7 separate regions of the Homo sapiens genome follow, and all the other regions are linked to region 1. The links are contacts of gene promoters, found by promoter capture Hi-C in blood cells and fetal thymus (Javierre and others, 2016). All regions are on one chromosome and are shown on one strand. The core of a region is centred on a gene start or on the middle of the fragment in contact, and the rest is flanking DNA. Distances in the headings are between cores, read along the strand shown. Region 1 holds the start of CTLA4 (cytotoxic T-lymphocyte associated protein 4). Region 2 overlaps RAPH1 (Ras association (RalGDS/AF-6) and pleckstrin homology domains 1). Region 3 overlaps RAPH1 (Ras association (RalGDS/AF-6) and pleckstrin homology domains 1). Region 4 overlaps RAPH1 (Ras association (RalGDS/AF-6) and pleckstrin homology domains 1). Region 5 overlaps RAPH1 (Ras association (RalGDS/AF-6) and pleckstrin homology domains 1). Region 6 overlaps RAPH1 (Ras association (RalGDS/AF-6) and pleckstrin homology domains 1). Region 7 has its middle 42 kb from the start of RAPH1.

What was found. Contacts are between HindIII fragments. The CHiCAGO score rates a contact against its expected background, and 5 or more counts as called.
Region 2: a fragment that was not itself captured here is called in contact with the fragment with the promoter of CTLA4 in region 1 in 1 of 17 cell types (M1 macrophages); the score reaches 5.2 in M1 macrophages.
Region 3: a contact is called between a fragment that was not itself captured here and the fragment with the promoter of CTLA4 in region 1, in 7 of 17 cell types (naive CD4 T cells, M2 macrophages, monocytes and 4 more). The highest score is 6.9, in naive CD4 T cells.
Region 4: a fragment that was not itself captured here is called in contact with the fragment with the promoter of CTLA4 in region 1 in 12 of 17 cell types (naive CD4 T cells, total CD4 T cells, naive CD8 T cells and 9 more); the score reaches 22.4 in naive CD4 T cells.
Region 5: a fragment that was not itself captured here is called in contact with the fragment with the promoter of CTLA4 in region 1 in 2 of 17 cell types (monocytes and M1 macrophages); the score reaches 8.5 in monocytes.
Region 6: a contact is called between a fragment that was not itself captured here and the fragment with the promoter of CTLA4 in region 1, in 1 of 17 cell types (monocytes). The highest score is 5.2, in monocytes.
Region 7: a contact is called between a fragment that was not itself captured here and the fragment with the promoter of CTLA4 in region 1, in 2 of 17 cell types (monocytes and M1 macrophages). The highest score is 6.8, in monocytes.

Annotation. Positions count from the first base shown.
Region 1 is chr2:203,866,418-203,869,202 of GRCh38, reverse strand. CTLA4 (cytotoxic T-lymphocyte associated protein 4) reads right to left here and starts at 1,432. Exons shown (of 4, transcript NM_005214.5): 1 at 1,152-1,432. The coding sequence starts at 1,260. The HindIII fragment of the contact is 240 bases long and covers 1,326-1,565 here.
Region 2 is chr2:203,447,353-203,450,137 of GRCh38, reverse strand. It overlaps RAPH1 (Ras association (RalGDS/AF-6) and pleckstrin homology domains 1), which reads left to right. Exons shown (of 14, transcript NM_213589.3): 11 at 1,302-1,400; 12 at 2,059-2,179. Among named protein-coding and RNA genes, the nearest start is that of RAPH1, 87 kb to the left of the region's middle. The HindIII fragment of the contact is 387 bases long and covers 1,236-1,622 here.
Region 3 is chr2:203,463,694-203,466,478 of GRCh38, reverse strand. All of the region lies in intron 4 of RAPH1 (Ras association (RalGDS/AF-6) and pleckstrin homology domains 1), which reads left to right. Among named protein-coding and RNA genes, the nearest start is that of RAPH1, 70 kb to the left of the region's middle. The HindIII fragment of the contact is 3,082 bases long and covers 1-2,785 here.
Region 4 is chr2:203,486,039-203,488,823 of GRCh38, reverse strand. The region is part of intron 4 of RAPH1 (Ras association (RalGDS/AF-6) and pleckstrin homology domains 1); the gene reads left to right. Among named protein-coding and RNA genes, the nearest start is that of RAPH1, 48 kb to the left of the region's middle. The HindIII fragment of the contact is 1,293 bases long and covers 784-2,076 here.
Region 5 is chr2:203,504,601-203,507,385 of GRCh38, reverse strand. The region is part of intron 1 of RAPH1 (Ras association (RalGDS/AF-6) and pleckstrin homology domains 1); the gene reads left to right. Among named protein-coding and RNA genes, the nearest start is that of RAPH1, 29 kb to the left of the region's middle. The HindIII fragment of the contact is 7,823 bases long and covers 1-2,785 here.
Region 6 is chr2:203,522,251-203,525,035 of GRCh38, reverse strand. The region is part of intron 1 of RAPH1 (Ras association (RalGDS/AF-6) and pleckstrin homology domains 1); the gene reads left to right. Among named protein-coding and RNA genes, the nearest start is that of RAPH1, 12 kb to the left of the region's middle. The HindIII fragment of the contact is 7,464 bases long and covers 1-2,785 here.
Region 7 is chr2:203,575,733-203,578,517 of GRCh38, reverse strand. No RefSeq gene overlaps it. Among named protein-coding and RNA genes, the nearest start is that of RAPH1, 42 kb to the right of the region's middle. The HindIII fragment of the contact is 4,941 bases long and covers 1-2,785 here.

The sequences.
Region 1 (2,785 bases), core at 183-2,682:
GTGATTATAGCCCACCCAAGTGAGCACTCAATAATCTTTATTGTATTGACTCTAAGCTTAAGAAATCCTAAATGTCCTGCCCTCTCCCCAAGCAAGCTCACACTCATCACCACTAAATGCGGTCACACTCAACTTTCCAGTATTGGGAGGGTCCTGTTACTGGTTGAGATAAATTTACTTTAGGAAATTTAAATACTTCTAAGAGTGTTTATTTAATCTTTACATATTTAAAACATGTAAAAATAAGAAAACATATATGAATATTTCTTCTCCAGTAAAAATTAAATCATCAAATATCTTTTGAGTACCTACTTCATACAAACTACATGGTTTCTTAACCAAGAAGGTCTAGAGAGAGATAAGGTTGAGATTCAATGGATATACTCATCATTTTAAGCCGTGTAACAAACCTGGTGTCAGTCTCTGAAGAGCTGAAAACTGAGGATCTGCATCTGAAACCCACACGTAGGTCAGGCAACAATTAAGTATTGTATGCCAAACAGACTGGTGGCTTTCTTTCTTTCCTTTTCCTTGTCTTTTTTTTTTGGCAATTTCAAACTTTTATTTTTAAATAATTGGCTAATTAGCTAGTAGAATTGATTAAGAGAACCTTAAAACCTTGAATTAAGTAAAGAAGGCATTCTTCCCACAATTTCCCTACATTTTAAACAAGCTGGCTAATTCATTTATAAAGTATATGAATCCGAGGACCTTAAAACCTTGAATTGTATAGCAAAAAAACTCTTCCCAGGATTTGCTTAAGTCAATTTTTTTTAAAGGAACTTGTGAGCTCATCCTGAAACCCAGCTCAAATGTATTCAGGACTATGGCTATCCTTTCCCTCTTAAATCACTTCCAGTCTCATAGAAGGGTCTGAAATTGCCTGTGTCTCTCTACTAAACCAACTCACATGCATTCATGAAGCCCCTACTAAATACCTGGCGCTCTGTTCTGAGCTATCTCTTTGCCTTATTTGCTGCCGCCCAACTGCTCCCTGCTGGCCCTGGAATACAGAGCCAGCCAAGCCAGATTGGAGTTTTACCTTTAACTTCTGGCTTTGCTATAAATCACTGCCTTTGACTGCTGAAACAAATGAAACCCAGGTAGGAGAAACACCTCCTCCATCTTCATGCTCCAAAAGTCTCACTCACCTTTGCAGAAGACAGGGATGAAGAGAAGAAAAAACAGGAGAGTGCAGGGCCAGGTCCTGGTAGCCAGGTTCAGCTGAGCCTTGTGCCGCTGAAATCCAAGGCAAGCCATGGCTTTATGGGAGCGGTGTTCAGGTCTTCAGGAAGTAGAGCAAAACCTTTCAGGATCCTGAAGCTTTGAAATGTGTTTGAACCCACACAGAATCAAGGACTTTATATAGATAGCTTTGATCCCAGATATGTATTACACATGTGCACACACAGAAGGCACTTGAATAGAAAGCCTTTTTGTTTTGGTTTTACGAGAAAGGAAGCCGTGGGTTTAGCTGTTACGTCGAAAAGACAACCTCAAGCACTCAACTGAACAAAACAAGCCAATCCATGGATGGAAAATGTATTCAATTTGAAACTGAAGCTTCATGTTCACTTTGAGGATCTGGATAACTAAGTGGAGACTTGGAGAATTTCCTGGAGTACAAGGGTCCTCCTAAATCCCAATTTTATTCAATCTTCTGGGCATCCTTAACCATCCAGTCCAATTCATTTCATTGACAACTCCAAAACTACTAGGCTGCTAACTTTCTGAGCCCTTGGGCTAATGGCAGGATTTGTCTAGGCATCATTAATAAAAACTGTATTCTATCTGTGAAGCACCATCCTTCTAATGGTCCCTTGACAGCTTTACAAATAAGTTTATTTCTCCTAAATCCATTTAGCATTTGGTTAAGAGAAAAAAACTAAAATCACAAGAAATAAACTGAAAATAGGCGGAAAAGAAGCTGCCTCTGGTTTTGCAGAAGGAAAGAATTCAGGTGTTCTTAAAAGCCTTAACTCAACAGAGACAAAACAGAGTTGAAGAAGGTCCAAAGAAAAGCCAACCCAAATGATTCAAGAGATTAGAGCCGTCCATAAAAGGATAGACTTTTTTTTCTAATACAAATTTTTCAAGCAGAAAATTCAAAAGTGAAGATTAAATATAACCAGAGTCCTTAAATTTGTGACAGCTGTAGACAGGACCAATGATCTAACAAAAAGAATTTGAAACATTGAGGACCTTCCTTAAATCTGGAGAGTTTTCATACATTTTAATAAAGAAAGAAACATTCATGGGGAACCTGTAATATGCCCGGAATTCTGTGCACTTAGGATTGAATGATGACAAAACAAAAACATAGTTGATACCTTAAGGGGCTTCTAGAAGGCTGACATGCAAACAGACAGTTGTAACAGGGAATATGACATTTGCCTACTCCAGTCCGTCCATGGTTTCCCATTGTCCACACCTCAGCACAGCAGAGGAGACTCTGCAGAATACTCACCAAATGCCTCCCTCTTTGGCCTGTACCCCAGCATTCCCTCCCATTCCCCCTTCCTGCATTTGTCTTTCCTTCCACGTGCCTCTTTCAGGCCTCATCACCTTTACCCATGCTGTTCCTACTGCCTTTTTTCTCCTATTATCTTATTTTATACTCCTTCTCATCCTCCAGGACTTAGCTCAGCTGTCATCTCCTCCAGGAAGCCTCTTCTTTTTTTTTTTAAAATTTTATTATTATTATACTTTAAGTTTTAGGGTACATGTGCACAACATGCAGATTTGTTACATATGTATACATGTGCCATGTTGGTGTGATGCACAG
Region 2 (2,785 bases), core at 180-2,679, 420 kb after region 1:
CTTATTTTATTGAGCTCATGGATTTTCACAACAAATGACTATGATTGGGGAATTTTGGAAAACTAAATTCTTTTAAAGCTTTTTTTCTTTCTTTCTTTGTTTTTTTTTTTTTTTGGAGACGAAGTCTCGCTCTGTTACCCAGGCTGGAGTGCGGTGGCACGATCTTGGCTCACTGCAACCTCTGCCTCCTGGGTTTAAGCGATTCTCCTGTGTCAGCCTCCTGAGTAGCTGGGATTACAGGCATGCACCACCACGTCCAACTAATTTTTGTATTTTTAATAGAGACGGGGTTTCACCGTGTTGGTCAGGTTGGTCTCGAACTCCTGACTCCTTGATCCACCCGCCTCGGCCTCCCAAAGTGCTGGGTTTACAGGCATGAGCCACCATATCTGGCCTTTTTCTTTCTTATAACTGAACACAAATTTAAAATTTTTTCCAGGCAAATTATAGCCATTAGTTTTTTGGTTTTCAGAATAGTTGAAAAGAGATGTGGTGTTCATAAGTCATTACATTCAGAACAAGTGTGATTTAGGGCTTTTCTTTCCAAGGACCTACTGGTTGAGGCTCAGTGGTGTTAAAATTTCTTAAACATATTCCTAACACCTGGATTTTGTAGCCAAGGTTCAGTCAGTCACCTCTCATCCAAGCCTCAACTGAAAAGTACAGTGGGTTGTGAAAACTAAATGTGAAGATGCTGTTGACATCTATGTGTCCCCTGGAGGCAAGTGCTGCAGCCCTGCAGTTTGGTAGAGAGTGGGACCTACAGGGCTGTACTTCCCTGTGACAGGTGTGACTGTAGATTCTTGTCCCAGGTGCTGTGCCATAGGCTTGGTGTACCCAGCCCAGTAATTCACCTCACCTCTAGACACTGAAGCTTTGTCAAAGTCCCTCTCTGATTTGGAGTCTTCTGCACCCATAATTTCAGTGGGTTGAAAGTGAAATTAAACATTCTCTTCCTTTTCCATAATCTTATAGATGGAGAATTCTATGGACTCTGTTAACCTTGATGAACTTTGTTTCTTTGAAATGTAGAAGGAACGTTTGGGAATTTCTCAAGATGTGAAGATCTATTTTAACTTGGATATCTTGATCTAAAATTTCACAAAAGTTTCTTTCTCATTTACTTTGTAAAAATTCTTATGGGCTACTTTATTTGGCCTTATGGCCATATAAGAAGCATAAATGTATTGGCCATTACTCTAATGGCCTATAACTTGTCAGGATATGTTTAAGCTTTGATAAAGTTTGTTTTTCTTTAGTTCTCCAAGGGACTTAGTTGGATTTTGTCTTTAATCTTGCAGCATCCACAAATCCAGAAGAAATCTCAATATATCAAATACCTTTGTTGTGATGATGTGAGGACACTGCATCAGTGGGTCAATGGGATCCGCATTGCAAAGGCATGTCTCCTTTTGATTTGATGATGGAATAATGAGGTGTTTGTCGATGATATAGTTTTCGTTTTCATGACAACTATTCTGACTATTTCATGTTCATGGATTTGCCAGTGCCTACGTTTTTCAGGCCTAAGTTTCAAGTTTTAAATGTTGTCTTTTTTCCTTGTTTATAGGGATAAACTTTTAACATTTGGTATACTTGGAATAATATTGCTGGTAAAAGCTTGTGTAGTATCAAAGTGATTTATTTTGGCTTTGGAGAATGCATTATATGATTCTTAAATAGTAGAGTTTAGCCTAAGCAAAGTAAGTTTTGGAAAAATTAAATTACTTTAAGTAATGATCATTTACCAACCACATTTGGAGCAGTATCCTGAAGAGTGCTAAAAAGCTGCCCTTGGATCAAGAATTTGGGGTGAAAAAACATTAATGTTTATAACAAACAGAATCAAGTGTTGACTTCTTGCTGCCCCTCTAAAAATGAGGAGAAATAAGAATAGATTATAATTTATGGTATTAGAGGAATTTTTGAACTATCATAGGTATTAATTTTAATACAGACCATCAATCAGTAAACAGAAATATGTCCCCCATTTCACCTTATCCTTCTGTATCATACTCAGTAAAGTTTAGATGTCACCATTTCCTGTCTTCTCTTTAGTATGGGAAGCAGCTCTATATGAACTACCAAGAAGCCTTGAAGAGGACAGAGTCAGCCTATGATTGGACTTCCTTATCCAGCTCCAGCATTAAATCGGGATCCAGTTCTTCCAGCATCCCAGGTAGTTCAAAATGCTTCAAAGCACTATTTTGCGATTAATATGAAGGTCTCTGTAGAGACTGATAGTAGACCTGGAAATTTCAACTTGATTCTTAAAAACCGGAGCCATACTTAATTCCTAAATTATAATCAATAGATGCCTTTTTAAAAATTGCTAGAGGGTACAGTATCATGGGCTAGTTCACAAATGTATTTGAAATGAAAAATCAGTATATAGATTTCTAAAGCCAGTTTTGTTATTTATATTTATAAAATTTATTCAAAACATACATACTGCTGGACACTGTTAATGCATAATTTGGGATAAAACATTACTTGGAAAGAATCTTTGTACTCAGAAACCATGAAGAAGCTGCACTCCTTCAGATTCCTATATCCTTTAAACAAGTGCATGCTATGATTACATCTTAACATAAATCTTCTTTCAATTCAAAATGTTTCATGAATGAGATCCATGTCATCTAAAAGCAGAATTTTTAAATTTTTGCATTGGATGTGATGAAAGAAATAATAACTTTAGTAGTATATTTAAAAGCTGCATGACTCTATTTCATCTCTATTAAGTAAAAACAAATTTAGAATGTGTATATACACATACATTTCCTAG
Region 3 (2,785 bases), core at 202-2,701, 400 kb after region 1:
CATCTAAACGTATCAGCAAACATTTATTTTTCCTGTATTATACAACACCCCATGAGCTTAAGACAATTTCTATTTTTCCCAGGTTGTTAATAGTTAAAAGATATGGTGATTGCTTAAATACATTAGACACAAATAGCACTCTCTGAGAAAGAGCTTATTACCCACAGGAAGCATAAAAATATTAGGAGTCTTGCAATTTGACATAAACATTTTCATTTCCAGTTTTGTTCCAGGGATGATACTCAGACTCTAAAAGAGGTATCATGATCAGTTCTGTTTCTTCAAAAAGCTGCTAGCAAGGGTTATCCTTTAATAAAACTAGAGAAGTATAAACTAAAATATGCCTAGGTTGAAGTTAACCCAGCTCTTAATTTCATACAGTTTTAACATGGACCACTTTATGTAAGCATAAAGAGTAGCATTTTGAGCAAATGGAAGAGCAGCTGGGATTTGGATTTGTTAAAATAGCCCCCATCTAGCTGCTTTATAAAAATTTCTTATTGACAGTTAGGAAATCTAATTGGTTTAATGTATGTTAGTTGGTTACACGGGTCTCTTCTTTGTTTAATCCCTATGTCCGTTGTGTCAACTTTTTTTTTTTGAGACGAAGTCTTGCTGTGTCACCCAGGCTGGAGTATAGTGGTGTGATCTCTGTTTACTGCAACCTCCGTTTTCTGGTTTCAAGCAATTCTCCCTTTCTCAGCCTCCTGAGTAGCTGGGATTACAAGCGCCCACCACTGCACCCAGCTAATTTTGGTGTTTTTAGTAGAGACAGGGTTTTGCCATGTTGGCCAGCCTGGTCTTCAACTCCTTATCTGCCCGCTTGGCCTCTCAAAGTGCTGGGATTACAGGCATGGGCCACCATGCCTTGCCGGTGTTGTACATTCTATGCATATTGGCAAATATATGTGATAACATGTATCCACCATTGTTTTATCATACAGAATAGTTTCACAGCCCTTAAATCCTCCGTGCTCTGCCTATTCATTCCTCCTTCTTAACCCCTGGCAACTACTGATCTTTTTATCGTCTTTATGGTTTTGGCTTTTCCAGTGTCATGTAGTTAGAATTGTACACTAAATATCTTTCTGAGATTGGCTTCTTTCACTTAGTATTACACACTTAATGTTCCTTCATGTCTTTTCATGGCTTGAGAGCTCATTTCATTTTAGTGCTGAATAATATTCCATTGTCAGGATGCACCATAGTTTATTTATTACTTACTGGGTGACGTCTTTGTTGCTTCCAAGTTTTGGCACTCATGAATAAGGTTGCTATAAACATCCATGTGCATGTCTTTGTAGGCATCAGTTTTCAACTCATTTGGGTAAATACCAAGGAGCACAATTGCTGAATTGAATTGTATGGTAAGAGTACATTTAGTTTTGTAAAAAACTGCCAAAACTGTCTTCCAAAGTGACTGTACCATTTTATATTCCCACTAGCAATGAATGAGAGTTCCTATTGTTCCACATCCTTGGCAGCATTTGGTGGTGTTAGTGTTTTGGATTTTGGCCATTCTGATAGGTGTGTAGTGGTATCTCATTTTACTTGTAATTCCCTAATGACAAATAATGTTGAACATCTTTTTATATGCTTATTTACTAGCTGTCTTCTTTAGTGAGGTATCTTTTCAGGTCTTTTGCCTATTTTTAAAATCATGTTCATTTTTGTTTTAAAGAATTTTAAGAGCTCTCTCTCTCTTTTTTTTTATAACAGTTCTTTATCAGATACGTCTTTTGCAAATATTTTTTCTCCCAGTTTATCCCTTGTCTTCTCATTCTCTTGAATATTCCTTTTTTCTCAGAAATATGTTCAGCTTTGAGGGCATCTTGTAAACTTTTAAAATGTTAAATTTATAGATTATGTAATACCATAAAGAATTTGGCCTTTTAGAAGTTCATGTTTGGCTGGGCATGGTGGCTCATGCCTGTAATCCCAGCACTTTGGGAGGTCTAGGCAGGTAGATCACCTGAGGTCAGGAGTTTGAAACCAGTCTCGCCAACATGGCGAAACCCTGTCTCTTCTAAAAATACAAAATTAGCCGGGCATGGTGGCGGGCATCTGTAATCCCAGCTACTTGGGAGGCTGAGGCAGGAGAATCGCTTGAACCCGGGAGGTGGAGGTTGCAGTGAGCCAAGATCATGCCACTGCACTCCAGCCTGGGCAACAGAGCAAGACTCCATCATCTCAAAAAGAAAAAAGTTCATGTTTATATTCCAAATATACAAAACATTGATTCCACATATCAGTTTTTCCTCTTCAGACTTTAAATTTACTTTTCAGGAATATGAAGTGAAACCTGCAAATATACCTTGGTAAACTTTCTTTGCAATTCATGCCAATATAAGGATGCGGCAAATGAGCCATGAGGAACATAATAAGATCATTATCCCATTGAGAAAATATTCATGAAACTTCTGCCTCCTTCTTTCTCTTCCCCTAAATTTGTCAAGTAACTGATTTCATAAAAACTGCTGGAAAATGCTAGTATTGCAGATTCCTTTATAAAGTAGTGCTCTGTTCATCAAAAACGCATATAAGTTTTGGTAATTTACCTAACAATTTGTTTCTGTAAGACTCATAATTCTAAAAACTGAGAGTTTTAATGACAGTAATTTAGTTTTCTCGTTTCATAGCTTGTTTTAAAAAGAGAAAAATTTGTATCTTAAAACGTAAACATGTTTTATAATTCTGCTATTTGTTTATTTGCATAAAGGATTTTTTAAAAAAATAGGATGATTTAATCTTTTAGTCAGAGGAATATATAATAGTATAAGAATTC
Region 4 (2,785 bases), core at 181-2,680, 380 kb after region 1:
GAGTCAGTATGGTATATTGGAAAGGGCCACCAGGTATGGAATCAGGAAACTTGATTCTGAGTTTTCCTTGCCACTCACTACCCATGGGACCTTAAGTGAGTTATTCTCTTAAACATCAATTTCTCACAAGTAAAATGGAGTTCATAGTACTATATCTGCCTTCCTGATAGGGTGGTTCAGAGAACAAAAGTTGTTCATAAACAGGTTTTTTTTTTTTTTTTTTTTTTTTTTTTTTAATAGACGGAGTCTCATTCTGTCGCCCAGGCTGGAGTGCAGTGGCATGATCTTGGCTCACTGCAACCTTGCCTCCCGGGTTAAGTGATTCTCCTGCCTCAGCCTCCTGAGTAGCTGGGATTACAGGCGTGTGCCACCATGCCTGGCTAATTTTTGTATTTTTGGTAGAGACGGGGTTTCACCATGCTGGCCAGGCTGGTCTCAAACTCCTGACCTTGTGATCCGCCCACTTCCCAAAGTGCTGGGGTTACAGGTGTGAGCCACTGCGCCCAGCCAGAGTTCGTAATACTATATCTGCCTTCCTGATAGGGTGGTTCAGAGAACCGTAAGTTATTCATGAACAGATTTTTAAAAGATGGAATTTTTTTCAGCATGTGACTGGATAAGATAGGGAATAGATTTGCGGTAACAAGTTCAACAAAAGCTGAGTTTGGTGAAAGAGAATTCTTTATTGAGTTGTTTTCATCAAAGAGATGGTAATTCTGTCATAGGGTAGCAGCAAGAAAGAAGAAAAATGGGGCAAAGTTAAGTCAACCTTTCCAATAAGCTTGTGTTGACAATATTCTAATATGGGATAAAAGAATCTATTTATGAATAATCAGTACTAAAGTAAAATCTTGAATTTTAACTATTACTTGACATCATTGATTTTTTTTTCGTAACTTATTTAATTCTTTGGATTAATTTCCATCAGTAGGTAACTCTTGGTACCCACCCATGTGCGTAGCTTTGTTTTTGGTACTGTGGAGCACAAAAGGAGTATGAATCATGGTGGTTTGGAGATAAACTTGAGTTATTTCAAAGAAAGCGAATCTTATCAATCTGAAGAATAAACTTTCATTTATTTAAAATGAAACTTATCTAAGTGGTATATATTCTATAGAGAACTTGAAAACTGATTTCTAGGCCGGACGTGGTGGCTCACACCTGTAATCCCAACACTTTGGGAGGCCGAGGCGGGCGGATCACCTGAGGTCAGGAGTTTGAGACCACCCTGGCCAACATGGTGAAACCCTGTCTCTACTAAAAATACAAAAAAAAATTAGTTGGATGTGGTGGCGCATGCCTGTAATCCCAGCTGCTCGGGAGGGTGAGGTAGGAGAATCGCTTGAACCAGGGAGTCGGAGGTTGCAGTGAGCCAAGATCGTGCCACTGCACTCCAGCCTGGCAACAGCAAGACTCCGTCTACAAAAAAAAAAGGAAAAAAAAAACTGATTTCTATTTTGTGATACCTGGGAATTATATTTAGCCACCAGCTACTTAATATGTATCATTTCATGTCCTTTAGATTTACCTGCTAGGATATGAGCAATATTTTATTAGGGATGTGCTTTCTTGGCCATTCTTTGTTTTGTATGTTGATATTCCTTCCAATCAGTTTACAGTATTTTGAGTTGGATTAAGATGCGTGAGGGACAAGTTATAAACTAATCATTAAGGATCTTCTAATACCGTATGCATGTCTTTCTGTCTGTAAAATGTGCTCATTATAAAAGTTCATACAGTATAGGGGCAAATTGAAGTAAAACGTGAAAAGTTCCTCTCTCCCAGCAAGCGCACTTCAAATGGTATCTAGTGGTATCCATGGGTATCACTGTGAATACTGCAAAGATACCAGTGCTCAATGGTATAATGTTTAATATAAGAGTTTAATGTAAGGTTTGGTGAGTAAACCAGGACTATAGCAGGGAAAGGAGTTAAAAAGCCTTATCTAGCTAGCCTGTTCTTTTGCCTCACCTAGGAGTATAGAAAGGTGGTTTAACAAACCCGGAACTTGCTTCCATTTGCTTTTTTCCTAGGTCTAGTCTGTTCTGATTCAAATAAAGTAAACTGAGGCAAGCTTAATATATCCTGAACTCATGTATCAAATTGTCTTTAAGTGCAAATACAGTTTTAAAAATATTTTAGTTTTTCATGCATGGCGTTAAATAGTTCTATGAGATATGTTACGGAAAACTATCCTCTACTCACATACACATCATATTCTGCTTCCAGAGGTAAGCAATTTTTGCTCATTTAGCTGATTCTTAGGGACTTTACCTCTTTATCATTAAGTCTACATACACATTGCCATTTCTTGATTTTCTTTTTAGTGGTATGTATTACCTATTGACTTCTCACTCTACTCCAGAAGATGGAGGGTATAGCTGTCTATATACAGCTTCTTCTCACTTCTCCCTTCCTGTTTTTCCATTCTCCAAATATATTTTGATTGAGCTCATATTCAGTGTTTATATTAAAATGACTATATACTTGAAATTTACTGCTAACCTCCATATACTCTTGTGACTACATCCCCTTTCTGGAATATCATTTTACTTTTACTGGAATGAATATATGTTTAAAAATATTTAATTTTCTATATGGTGATCACTGTTTCAACTTCAGACTTTCTCCCAGTTGATTAAATCTCTCTGGTTCAAGCCAAATTAGCGTTCCATTAATTGCATCTTCTTAAAATTCTATTTATTTCTTTTCTTTCTTTTTTTTTTTTTTGTAGTCTTCAGGATTATCCTTAGGTTTTTTTTCCTAGGCTGGTGAGCTTCTCTGG
Region 5 (2,785 bases), core at 112-2,611, 360 kb after region 1:
GATTTTTTAAAACTTAGCAACTTGGTTTTTAAATTACTTTTAAAATAAATACTTTATAATTATAACAGTGGTTGCAAAATGGTGATTTTTTTTTGTCATTTCATCTACATTAAGTAGTTGGCATTCTACAGTAAGTAAGAGCTTTCTTCTTTACTGTGTATATTTTATTTAATTCAATATGGATTTTGTGGCCAGGCACGGTGGCACACACCTGTAATCCCAGCACTTTGGGAGGCCGAGGTGGGCGTATCACCTGAGGTCAGGAGTTCAAGACCAGCCTGGTCAACATGGTGAAACCCTGTCTCTACTAAAAATAAAAAAATTAGCCGGGTGTGGTGGCAGGCGCCTGTAATCCCAGCTACTTGGGAGTCTGGGGCAGGAGAATCGCTTGAACCTGGGAGGTGGAGGTTGCAATGAGTTGAGATTGTGCCATTGCACTCCAGCCTGGGCAACCCAGAGTGAAAGTTCATCTCAAAAAAAAAAAAAATATATATATATATATATCTATATATATATATATATATATATAGATATAGATAGATATATAGATATAGATATATATATAGATATATAGATATAGATATATATATAGATATATATATCTAGATATATATAGATATATATATAGATATATATATATATAGATATATATCTATATATGGATTTTAGTCAGTGGATTATAATTTGTTTCTATCATAATTTATTTCAGTATTTAACTTTTCACAGATTAGACCCCTGATCTGGGCCTTCAGGCTGGTTCCTGTGTCCATTTGACATGTGCCTATCATTAATTGAGGACTTTTTGCCACTAGATGATGTTCTAGAGGCTCATCTTGTTTTTTGTTTTTTGTTTTTTGTTTTTTTTTGAGACGGAGTCTCGCTCTGTTGCCCAGGCTGGAGTGTGCAGTGGCACGATCTCTGCTCACTGCAAGATCTCATCTTGTTTTTTTTCCCTGCCCTGCCCTGGAATTACTACTCCAGGTGTCTGTTACTTTTTGTGTAGAGTGTATACAGTATTTTGAAACCAAAAACTGGGAACCAAGTGTGCTAATTAATTACCTGGTGTCATTGCCACCAGGCTTTTTCAGTGGACATACCTACAAACACATAATACACACATCTCTGTCTTTATTTCTGCCCATCTTTTTGTCTGTTTGAAACCTTGAGTTTATTTATACTGATAATTCAATACCTAATCCAAATGACTTCCAAGCTATAGGCTACGTCTATTTGTTACCCCCTTTCCTCTCAAAGCATGGGTTGCCTCTGGGATTGGATTTCTTGCCAGTGCGTTTGGCCATCTGGTAGGGGAATAGGTAGGACAAAAGTGAAGAAAAATACTGCTGCCTCCCTCGTGAGGCTTTCCATAGTTTCAAGACCGTTTTCTCTAAGAGGAATGAAGTTGCAGCTTCTACTTCTAGTTGAGGCTGGAGTGGACATGCACAACATCAGCTGTCTGCAAAAATAACTAAATAGCTACACTATGTAGTATAACAGCAAAAGGTCTGAAGTGTGGAGCAGCCGTGTGTGTGTGTGCGTGCGCGCGCGTGTGTGTATAGTAACTATTCATTTGCTAGGGCTGCAGTAACAAATTACTACACGCTGAGTGGCTTAAAGCAACAGAAATTTACTGTCTCACAGCTCTTGAAATTGAGAATCTGGAATATAAACAACACAATCAATTATTTGTTGTTTTTCAGTTTTTATAGTTTTTTATCTACTCTGTGGTTTCAGATAATGCTTTATGGCATATTGTGTAATAGTTAATTATAAGATAATCAGAACTTTTTATATATAGGGATGTTAGGGGTTTCTTTGTAGAGCGTTGAACTAAATTGTATTTTTCCACTTTAGTGATATGGTTTGGCTGTGTCCCCACCCAAATCTCAACTTCAGTTGTATCTCTCAGAATTCCTCTGTGTTGTGGGAGGGACCCGGGGGGGGTAATTTAATCATGGCGGCCAGTCTTTCTTGTGCTAGTCTTGTGATAGTGAATAAGTCTCATGAGATTTGATGGGTTTATCAGGGGTTTCCACTTTTGCTTCTTCCACATTTTCTCTTGCCACCGCCATGTAAGAAGTGCCTTTTGCCTCCCACCATGATTCTGAGGCCTCCCCAGCCATGTGGAACTGTGAGTCCAATTAAACCTCTTTTTCTTCCCAATCTCAGGTTTGTCTTCATCAGCAGCCTGAAAATGGACTAATGCAGTAAATTGGTACCAGTAGAGTGTGGCGTTGCTGAAAAGATACCCAAAAACGTAGAAGTGTCTTTGGAACTGGGTAACAGGCAGAGGCTGGAACAGTTTGGAGGGCTCAGAAGAAGACAGGAAAATGTAGGAAAGTGTGAAACTGTCTGGAGACTTGTTGAATGGCTTTGACAAAAATGCTGATAGTGATATGAACAATAAGATCCAAGCTGAGGTGGTCTCAGATGGAGATGAGGAACTTGTTGGGAACTGGAGCAAAGGTGACTCTCATTATGTTTTAGCAAAGACACTGGCGGCATTTTGCCCCTGCGCTAGAGATTTGTAGAACTTTGAAATTGAGAGAGATGATTTAGGGTATCTGATGGAAGAAATTTCAAAGCAGCAAACCATTCAAAAGGTGACTTGGGTGCTATTAAAAGCATTCTGTTTTAAAGGAGAAACAGCATAAAAGTTCAGGAAATTTTCTGCCTGATGATGCAGTAGAAAAGACAAACTTTTTTTTTTTTTTTAGGAGAAATTCAATCCAGCTGCAGAAATTTGCATAAATAGCAAGGAGCCTAATGTTAATCCCCAAGACCA
Region 6 (2,785 bases), core at 80-2,579, 340 kb after region 1:
GGGATTGCTAGGCCATTTAGATAGATGTTCCTCCTTTTAAAAACTTTGTATTGAAGAACAATACATAATCAGAAAATTGCATATATCAGAAGTGAATTCTAATTCTAATTCTGCTATGAAGTCTTTTAGGTTGCTTGTTTCTTTAAAAAATTTTTTATTGCCTTACTGAGGTATAATTTCTATATAATAAACTGCACATATTAAAGTGTACAATTTGGTAAGTTTTAATACACCCATGAAATCATCACTGTAATCAAAACTGAACATTTCCATCATCTCCCAAAGTTTCCTCATACCTCTTTGTAATTTGTCCCCCTCTACCCCTGTCTTACGGCAATCTGTCACTATGGATTGGTTTGCATTTTCTAGAATTTTATATAAATGGAATCATACAGTGTCTTGTTCCCTTCCCCTCCTAACCCACCCAAGTCTGGCTTGTTTTCATGCAGAATAATAATTTTTAGATTCTTCGATCTTGTTGCTTGGATTAGTTCCTTTTTATTGCTAAAGTATTCCATTATGCATATATGCCACATTTCGTTTTTCCAGGCACCTTTGATAGAAATTTAGGCTGTTTCCAATTGTGGACAGGTTTTCATTTCTTGAGGATGAATACCTATGAGGACGTGTTGGGTTATAGGGTAGGTGTATTTTTAACTTTAATTTTTAAAGTGGGCAAATTTTTCCAAAGTTGTATCATTTTATATCCAACAGCATAATATGACACTTGGTGTATATCCTAAGACTTGGTATTGTCAGTCTTTCTCATTCTAGCCATTTTAATGGGTATGTAATGATATAACCGTAGCTTTAATTCACCTTTCGCTGATTATTATTGATGTTGAGCAATGTAATGTTCTTAGTCATTTGGGAAGTGACAGCAAGTCTTTGCCCATTTAAAAAATAAGATTGTATATATTTTTTAAATTTAGTTTAACAATTATTTACTCGATACAAGTTCTTTATTGGATATATTTGCAAATATTTTCTCTTAGTCTGTAACTTAGCTTGTCTTTTTTATTTTTTACTTTTGAGACAGAGTCTCGCTCTGTTGCCCAGGCTGGAGTACAGTGGCGTGATCTCGGCTCACTGCAACTTCCACCTCCCAGGTTCAAGGGATTCTCCTGCCCCAGCCTCCCGAGTAGCTGGGACTACAGGCGCATGCCACCACACCCAGCTAACTTTGTATTTTTAGTAGAGATGGGGTTTCACCATGTTAGCCAGGATGGTCTCGGTCTCCTGACCTGGTGATCCACCTGCCTCGGCCTCCCAAAGTGCTGGGATTACAGGCCTGAGCCACTGCTCCTGGCCGTGTATTTTTTTAATGGTGTTTTTCAAAGAGCAGAAGTTTTTATATTGGGCTTCATCAAAATTACCAATTTTTCCTTTTATGGTTAGTGTCGTTTGTGCCCTAATAAATTTTTGCCTACACCAAAGTTCAGAAAGTATATTTCCATATTTTCTCCTTGGAGTTTATAATTTTAGCTTTTACATTTTAGTCTACAATCCATTTTGAATTAATTTTTGTTTATGAGTGATATCGAGCCCTCTGCCCCATTTATATCTAGTTGTGCCAGTGTCATTTGTTAAAAACACTTTCCTCATTGCCTACCTCAGTTCTGACGTGGTTTTTTTTTTTTTTTGAGACAGAGTCTCGCTCTTTCACCCAGGCCAGAGTGCAGTGGCACAATCTCAGCTCACTGCAAGCTCCGCCCCCCGTATTCACGCCATTCTCCTGCCTCAGCCTCCCGAGTAGCTGGGACTACAGGCGCCCGCCACCACGCCCAGCTAATTTTTTGTATTTTTAATAGAGACGGGGTTTAACCGTGTTAACCAGGATGGTCTTGATCTCCTGACCCCATGATCCGCCCGCCTCGGCCTCCCAAAGTGCTGGGATTACAGGCGTGAGCCACCGCCCCTGACCTCTGGCATCCTTACTGAAAATTGTTTGACATTTTATGTGTGGGTCTATTCCTGGACTTTCCATTCTGTTACATTGATGTGATTCTCTATCCTTTTGCCAGTACTACATTGTCTTGATTATTTAGCTGGATAGTGAGTCTTGAAATCAGGTAAAATTCATTCCTCCCCTACTCTTTTCAAGGTTCTTTTCTTTTTCTTTTTTTTTTTTTTTTTTTTTGAGACAGAGTCTTGCTCTGTTGCCCAGGCTAGAGTGCAGTAACGTGATCTCAGCTCACTGCAATCTTCCAGGTTCAAGCGATTCTCCCACCTCAGCCTCCCGAGTAGCTGGGATTACAGGTGCCCGCCACCATGCTCGGCTAATTTTTGTAGTTTTAGTAGAGATGAGGTTTCACGATGTTGGCCAGGCTGGTCTCGAACTCCTGACCTCAGGTGATCCGCCTGCCTCAGCCTTCCAAACTGCTGGGATTACAGGTGTGAGCCACTGCACCCAACCCTTTTCAAGGTTCTTTTGGCTAGTCTAGGTCATTTGCTTTTCCATATAAATTTTAGAATACTCTTGTCAGTTTCTGTAAAAAAATGCCCACTGGGACATTGGTTGTAATTACATTGAATACCTAGTTCATTTTGGGGGAGAATAGGCATTGATAATATTGCATCTTCTAATCTATTAAGATGGCATATCTGTCCGTTTATTTAGAGCTTACACAGCAATGTTTATATTTTTCAGTTGCCTTACAATGTATTACATAAACACTGCATGCTGTCCTATTTCATTTCCTACAGCTACATCATTATTTACACATAGCTTTATTTTTATGATATAAATCGAGATTTGGTATGGAGATTTTTCCATATGATAACA
Region 7 (2,785 bases), core at 86-2,585, 290 kb after region 1:
AATGATATTATTTCTTTTCTTCCATCAGAAAGTCTTTCATGAAAGAAAGCAACTCCATGTTCCCAGATCTAGTACAATATCTAGTACATAACTCATAGTGGTATCAATAAATGTTAAAGGAATGGATGAATGAAAGAATTCATGAATAAATGAGTCTCCTCCTCTTTAACTCCCCCCGCCCCTGCTTTTATCTCCAATCTCTTGAACAACGCTTCTTTAACTCTAAATACCTCAAACTGTTAATCCACCAGGTAAAGGCTTTTATAGAAGAGTTGTCAAATTGAAAGAGTGAAAACATCTTCAGGAATAAGATAAAGTCAAACTGTCTCACTGTAATCCCTAACAGTGTTGGAACATTCCACTTTCAGTGTTAATTTCAATAAATAAAAATAATTATCTAATTTTATCTCAATGATGTTTCCATTGTTTATTTTTTTACATATAGTATCCATGTGGAGTGTTTACTCTTACATATATCAGGGATTGTTTATCTAATTATCTGATCTCTATCAGCACTTAAGGTTGTAAAAAAAAAATAGTGTAGCAATATTGTCTATCTACATGTCTTCAATCCAAAGAAGAAAAATAGTCTTAAAATAGAAGACAGTATTTACAATGGTGGTGAACTTCAATAAACAGATTATATATTCTCTCTGTGTATTTATTCCTACCCAAAAGATCTCTCTCTATCCCCACAGGACTGATTTGAGGTCAAAAGGGGGCATGCATGCAAATGGCTTTGAGAGGTACAAAGCAATACAGAAATAAAATATATCGTGGGCATGTCGCTAGTTCCAACTACTAGCAGGCTGAGACAGGAGGACTGCTTGAGTCCAAGAGTTGGAGGCTAGCCTGGGAAACATAGCAAAATCCTGTCACTAAAAAATAATAACTTTTAAAAAAAGAAATAAAATATATTATTGTTGCAATCTTCTTTTGTTTCCATAATCATCAGCTAGTTAATTCTACTGAAGAAGGCAAGAGGAAGGTTTGTCATACAATTTTGTAGCGATAGTCCCATTGTTTCATCTGTAACCACTCAAAAACACCATCAAAGACAAATGCTTGGAGTCCAAAGAGAAGTGACACCAACCCAAATGCCCATCAATGATAGACTGGATAAAGAATGTGGTATATGCCATGGAATACTATGCAGCCATAAAAAGGAATGAGATCATATCCTTTGCAGGGACATGGATGAAGCTGGAAGCCATCATCCTCAGCAAACTGACACAGGAACAGAAAACCAAACACCGCATGTTCTCACTCATAAGTGGGAGTTGAACAATGAGAATACATGGACAGAGAGAGGAGAACAGCACACATCAGGGTCTGTTGAGGGATAGCGGGTGAGGGGTGAGGGGAGGGAACTTAGAGGACAGGTCAATAGATGCAGCAAATCACCATGGCACGTGTATACCTATGTAACAAACTTGCGCGTTCTGCACATGTATCCCTTTTTTTTGTTTCAGAAGAACTAAAGAAAAAAAAGAAAGACAAAAATTTTTTAAAAAAGAGAAGTGTACAAGTCAGGAGGAGAAATTGGCACTCCAAGACAGAAAAATCAATGACTAAAGTAGCTTCATACTAAACCCTTTGAAGTGGAATCTTCTCTGCTATGTTTCCTGATCTACTCCAGACATCCACCACTTCTGGTGCCTAGTGATACCTGGTTGCTATTCCCTTGTATTAAAAAGTGTGAATAGCAAGTGTGAAGACCAGCCACTCCATTATCTCAAAGAAGGGTTTACATTAGCATGTGTGAGAAAGACTCAGGTAACCTCCCCAAATGGCAAGTGTGTGTGTGTGTGTGTGTGTGTGTGTGTGTGTGTGTGTGTGTGTTTGAGACAGAGTTTCACCCTCTCGCCCAGGCAGGAGTGCAATGGCACCATCTCGGCTCACTGCAACCTACGCCTCCCAGGTTCATGTGATTCTCCTGCCTCAGCCTCCTAGGTAGCTGGGATTACAGGCACACACCACCACACCCGGCTAATGTTTTGTATTTTTAGTAGAGACGGGGTTTCACTATGTTGGCCAGACTGGTCTCGAACTCCTGACCGCATGAACCGCCCACCTTGGCCTCCCAAACTGCTGTAATTACAGGCGTGAACCCGGCCGGCAATGTTTTAATGCTTAATCCATTATGGAATAATTTTCTCTTGCTGTTGCATTATTTCCCTGACATTAAAGCACAGAGCAGTTGTCCTAACAGGAAAAACTGTGATCTTTGTGTCATTTGTTTTGTATACTTCAGCAAATGTTTAATAATTAATCTAGTTTTTACCCCTATCAATCGCTCTCTTATCAATCTCCTTCTAATCACTAAATCCCATTTTCTTCTGTCCTCATCCTCCTTCGAGCTTTCAATTGCAGTCCTCAGTGTTGCTCAACTTCTTCCTGAAATCCTCTCTTAAATGCTACACTGCACTGCACGCTCCAGTTTCTCCTACTACTCAAACCATTAATTCAGGATCTTATCACTTCCCCTTCTTTCTCCTGTGCTCTAAAATTGGGTTTTCCCTAAAGGTTTCCAGTGCTCTTTTTCTCTCTATGTAGTTTTTCTTGGTGATCTCACCCCTTCCACAACTTCTACTATTATCCCTGCATGTCTATCCACATTCCCAGTCTCAAATTCTCTCTAGACAAGATTTCACCTACCTCCAAGACGTTATACCCACCATATTTCACTGAAATCCCAAACTTGACGCATTCACAGGCAAACATGCTCTTCCTCCCAACTTCCCTATTTCCATGAATGGGGCCACCATCTTCCCAGCACCCAGAT